2 separate regions of the Homo sapiens genome follow, and region 1 is linked to region 2. The links are contacts of gene promoters, found by promoter capture Hi-C in human tissues and cell types (Jung and others, 2019). All regions are on one chromosome and are shown on one strand. Each heading gives the region's core, a stretch centred on a gene start or on the middle of the fragment in contact. The rest is flanking DNA. Distances are from core to core; before and after follow the strand shown.

The links. The method cuts DNA at HindIII sites, captures the fragments that hold promoters and counts their contacts. A contact is called where the count stands out against the background at its distance.
Region 1: a fragment that was not itself captured here is called in contact with the fragment with the promoter of TNS1 in region 2 in 2 of the 25 tissues and cell types used here (bladder and thymus).

What each region holds. Positions count from the first base shown.
Region 1 is chr2:216,965,805-216,968,656 of GRCh38, reverse strand. No RefSeq gene overlaps it. Among named protein-coding and RNA genes, the nearest start is that of TESHL, 96 kb to the right of the region's middle. The HindIII fragment of the contact is 8,095 bases long and covers 1-2,852 here.
Region 2 is chr2:218,001,572-218,004,287 of GRCh38, reverse strand. TNS1 (tensin 1) reads left to right here and starts at 1,293. Exons shown (of 33, transcript NM_001387777.1): 1 at 1,293-1,448. The coding sequence starts at 1,416. RefSeq lists enhancers at 8-107, 1,848-2,348, 2,349-2,716. The HindIII fragment of the contact is 30,357 bases long and covers 1-2,716 here.

The DNA.
Region 1 (2,852 bases), core at 3-2,502, 1.0 Mb after region 2:
CCTTCCCATCCAAGCAACCACCATGGAAAATGGGCAAGAAGGAGCAAGTTCAGGAGACCAGAAAGACCTCCAGGTATCAAGGGAGCCCCCAGGTCTCCCACCCCATACCCTGGCTGCAGAGCCGCTGACCCTCTCCTGCCCCAGCCTAGAGCTTTCCAGGGCCAGGACAAAGATGGAGCACTCCTTAAGGAGGCCCTGCCGCAGGACCCAAGCTGACATGCTCTTTTAGGGTGTCTCAGCCTTTCTCAGAACACAAGTTGGTCTAGAATCAGCACTCTGCAAACTATAAGAATAAAAAAAGAATCCCACTTTTGGGGAGCACATGGTGGGAGAACCAGTGCTGTGACTCATGCTGGTCCCAAGAGACAACACCCTGACCCTCAGCAGCCCCCTGCAGCACCTGCTTCCTCCACCGCCTACTGCTCTCAACTCCCATCCAGACCTTCATCCTGCCAGCACAAATCAGCAGAATGGATGTTGGACAGCTGGAATCACCATCAGCTCTCACTATGTCTCTGATTCCTGCAGGGCCTGCCCCATGCCCTCTTCCCCCACCCTCCCATGGCCTCTCACTCAAGTTCATTCTTCTCCTGGCACCAACAGCCATTTTCCACCACCCTGCTGGCCTCTGTCCAGCCAACCCCCCAAGGGGTTTTCACTCTCCACCTCATCTGTCTCCTTCATGCTCCTCCTGCTGGAACTGGGTCTTCCAACTCTATTTCTAGATTCTTTCCATTGCCCTCTCTTTGGCTAGGTGGCTTGCTTCTCCAACCCCCCTTGCATTTCTCTGGCCCCTAATAAGCATCTCCAGGATGGAAGATGGGGAGCTACAGTTTGCAACTATGTTCTTTGTTCCTAATGGAGTCCTCCTTCCCATCCTCCCCAATCCTGCCATAGAAACACAGAGCTTTGATGAAAGGAGGGCTTTGTCACTACCTCCTGTGCCTGGAAGAGGTCCTCAAGTCCTCTCTGTGATGTCCCTGCCACACAGGGAGAAAGAGGGATAATTCCTGTCTGTGCTGGACAGAACCCTGGTTCCATAGCCTCCTCCATCCACTCTTTCACTGACTTTTCATTCCCCACTCTCTTCCTCTGCCCATACCCAGGTAGGAGGAGTATACTCTCAAATTCCACTACTGTAGTTAACATTCACACAGATTATTAGGTGCTAAAACTTTCCATAGGTACTAGTCACTAAGGGCTACTGACTTGTTTCTATCTTTGGGTGATTCTTTAAGCTGGGACAGAGCCCTCTTTTTCTAAACCTGGGAATGTCATTTCTTTCATCTTGGGCCCTCTATTCGATTGGGCTCTCTCCTGCACTCCATGCTGCCTACACCTGGCCCCTTCAATCTCTCAAAGCTCCACTTCTAAGAATCCTGAAAATATCTTTCCTTACATTGGTGAATACCCAGAACAATTTTGCATTCCAAAAATGATTTCTATTGGCTCTCTTTACTTTTAAAAAGACTTAGCCTACATTTACAACTGCAAATATATGTAGATATATGTGTACATATATGTACATGTATGTGTACACACACATGCACACATATATAACATACGTGTGTATGTATGTATACACACACATATATATAATCTTGCCTCTACTCACTCCTCAATCTGCAGTATTTAGTCTTCCTGAGATTGAGATAGAGGAATATTTCAGAGAACATTGTAAAAAAAATTTTCAGAAAAAACTGCAGTGACAAAGCATTAGAGAAACTAAAATACATGACTATGCATCAAGAATAATTATTACTTTGTTCATGTAATTTTAATAAATAATAAATTTAAAGAAGCTTTTTATAATTTTGATTTAATGAGTATATACACATATATTATTTTAGCTTTTTAGAAAGAGTTTTACTTTTGCCCGGGCCATGGTAGCTCACACCTGTAATCCCAGCACTTTGGAAGGCTGAGGTGGGTGGATCACCTGAGGTCAGGGGTTCAAGACCAGCCTGACCAACATGGTGAAACCCCGTCTCTACTAAAAATACAAAAAATTAGCTGGGCATGGTGGTGCATGCCTGTAATCCCAGCTACTCTGGAGGCTGAGGCAGGAGAATTGCTTGAACCCGGGAGGCGGAGGCTGCAGGGAGCCAAGATCACACCATTGCACTCCAGCCTGGGCGACAGAGTGAGACTCTGTCTAAAAAAAAAAAAAAAAAAAAAAAAAAAAAAAAAAAAAAAAAAAAAAAAAACAGAAAGAGCTTTACTTTTGAGAGCAGTTTTGAATAGAACTATTTTAACTATTTTATAAGCTCCACAATATAACAAAACTAATTTTTGGTCAACAAACAAATTAAAAATAATTATTTTATCATCCTCTTTGACTCTTAAGGATGACAATAAGTTCTACGGCAACCCTGAGTGTAGAGGAACACAAGAAAAAGTATCAGCTGGGCGCAGTGGCCCATGCCTGTAATCCCAAAACTTTGGGAGGCCAAGTGGGTGGATCACCTGAGGTCAGCGGTTCGAGATCAGCCTGGCCAACACAGTGAAACCCCATCTCTACTAAAAATACAAAAATTAGTGGGGCATGGTGGCAGGTGCCTATAATCCTAGCTACTCGGGAGGCTGAAGCAGGAGAATTGCTTGAACCCAGGGGAGGGAGGTCGCACTGAGCCGAGATAGTGCCACTTCACTCCAGCCTCAGCAAAAGAGTGAAACTTCATCTCAAAAAAACGAAAAGAAAAAGCATCGTAACTGAAGCTGCTGTTACCTCCAAGCCTAAAAGAGCAAGAGGAAAAAGTGGCATGGAAACCCGGGAAGAATCACGTAGAAATGGCTTCTTGAAAGGACTTTTTGTTCAAAGGACATCAGCTCCTGATGATCTCACAGAGGAG
Region 2 (2,716 bases), core at 44-2,543:
CTTTTCTTGCTAAGTGACTCAGTCTAGGAACGAGGTCTCCAAGTGCCTACTCTGGGAGGGCTCTTATGTGTTGACGTGAGTTGGACTGTGTCCTTGTGTGTGTGTGTGTCCACAGGAGGGTGTGGGGCTGAGCCCTCCCTCCTTCTCCTGGACAGCTCCAAAGAACAGAGCGGGTGATTCACTGGCCCCCACCCACCCTCAGTTGGTCCAGCCAAGGCCAGAGCTCAAAGAGGAAGGGTTTTTTTTGGAGGGGAACGTGGTGGTTCCAGACAATGAAGGCCTGGGGCAGACTTTGCTGGATTCCCCCTTAGTGCTCCGTGGGAATACTTTTGGGTTTTGACCCAGCCTCCTTTCCACCCTCTAGACCCCCAACAATTGTCCCTGGGCAGAGGTGGGGGCGAGGGGAGGGGAGGGCTGGTGGGCAGGGGACACTGAGGGGAAGAAATAGGCCTGTGGAATGGTGGGAGGGGAGAACTGGGCCCAGGGAGGGGGAGAGGGGAGGAGGGGGAGGAAGTGGGGAAATGCAAACCAAATGTTGGCCCCGGGTACAGTCAAGAAAAACACACTCTCGCGGGAGCCTGGAGCGGGGCTCCCTTTCAGAAGGGCAGGAAAGGCTGGGACAGATGTTTGCAGGAAAGAAAGAAAGAAGGGGGAAAAAAAAAGAAATAGGAAAAAAATTGGAATGAAACCCACAGCCTGGGGGCAGGGCCATTCTTCCCCAGTCTCGGGCCCTATTTCTTCTGTGTTAAGGCCTGTCCTGGGCTCTGAGCTTGGCGCGTGGGCACCAGAGTCTGTCCCAGTCTGTGTGTGCAAATGCATGTGTGTTCCGAGGAGGCCAGGAAGGCAGGCACGGGTACTCAGAGAAGGGGAGGGGCCAAGGCACCCTGAGTGTGCTGATTGTGTGGGCCTGGGGCTGTCTGTTCATCCATCAGTGGTCTGGAGGGTTCCAGGAGTGAAGGCCCCCAGGCTGGTTTGCCAGGGGCGGGGGTCTGCAGTGAGGAGGGAGGACTCCAGGCCTACCAGCACCAGATCAGAAGACTGAGGAGCCTTGGTGGCACACAGGGGTTGTGTGTCCGGGGGTGGGGGGCACGGCCTGGGGGGGCCCTGCCTCTGGTAGCTTTCCCTTTTCCCTGTCCCCTTTACACCCCCTGCAAAGCAGGGTTCCTGACCCTCAAGGCCACCGGTGGAGCCTGGGAGGAGGGAGGAGAGAGGAGGCTGGGACGAGGGGTGGAGTGGGGGGAGGAGGAGGAGGAGGGAGGGTGAGCTGGAGGCAGCAGGGCGAGAGGCCCAGCAGATGCTGGCGGAGCCGGAGCAGCCGCGGACTCAGAGAGCCCTTCTGCCAGCGCCGCGGGGACTCTAGCTTCAGGGGCTCTTCACAGGCCCTGGGCGTGCCTCAGTGACGGGACCCAGCAAAGATGACGTGGATCTGTCTGTCCTGCATGCTCTGGGTAGGTCTGGCTGCTTTAGCTGCGACGTTACTCTTCCTCAAACCCCCCGCCCCCCACCGGCCCCTGCCACCTTATCCTTTTGCTGAGAGCCCGGGGTCGGGGGGTGTCAGTCTTGAAGGAGGGGCCTTTCTGTCTCTGACCTACAGAAGGACAGACTGACTTGAGCAACCCTCAGCCGGAAGACTTTCCCCACCAACAGGGCCCAGGCCCAGGGTCCCGGGTCAGTACATCCCCTGCCCCACCCCCCCACCCCCCAATGGAGTCCCAGAGCTGTAAGTGGAAGGAGGCCACAGAGAAGTTTGCTTCTCTTTAGAGCCTTTCCTCCCGACTTGCATCCTACAATGGGGTGAAAATTCTTCACCGCCCCCCCTCAGTTGCTGAGCCCAAGATCTTGAGGAGGAGGCAGTGGTGGGGCTGGGGAGCAAAGAATAGTAGTCCAAAATATTAAGTCTGGAAGAGCTGGGCTGTGGGAGAATTCTCAGAGTCCATCCCTTTTATTCCTTCTACACCCAGTTTCAGCTTCCACCCACTGCCATCCCTTCCTCCACAGCCCTCCCCTGCTACCAAGACCTCTCCATCCTGGAGGAGGGAGCCATGGCCCGCTCTTCCCCCTTTCTCTCTTGGCTCCAGGTTCAGGGAGGTGGGTTTCAGGATGGGGATGCCAGGGGGGCCAGCAGAGAGGCCTGGGGGCCACGTGGTGAAGGTTAAAAGTCTTAAGGCCAGACCTGGGCTGAGGCTCCTGGGTAAAGGGGGATGGGAGAGGGCTGCCTGCTGCAGAAGGGCTGGGGGTCAGAGGAGGAGAGGACCCCTTCCTCAGAGGGGCTCCTGTGGGGCTGTCTTGGCCAGGCAAAGGCATGCATGGGGTCAGGAGGGTGAGGAAGTCGTCCCTGGCTGAGGTTACTGTTGGGCTCTGAGAGAGTGATGGCTGGTTTGGGGGAGGGGGCTTCAGGGCTGTGATCCAGATGTGGCCTTTCCTGTCCCTTTCCTTGTTCTGGCCAGTCCTCGGGAGGGCCCTCTTGGCCCAGGCAAGCCCATGCTGGGGGCAGTTGTGGGAACACAAACTCGGGCAGCCAGGTGTCCTCTGGGCAAAGAAAGAAAGGGTGGGGGAGGGGGCCTGGAATGAGGCGGTTTGGGTGGCATGTTGGGCTGGGGTGCTGGGATGGATTGGATTAATAGATTGAGAGTGACTGGGGAGGCCTGCACACAGGATGCATTTGTGGTTTACTGGGCTGGTGTTGACATCTGGGAAATGGGAGCCTTGGCCAGGT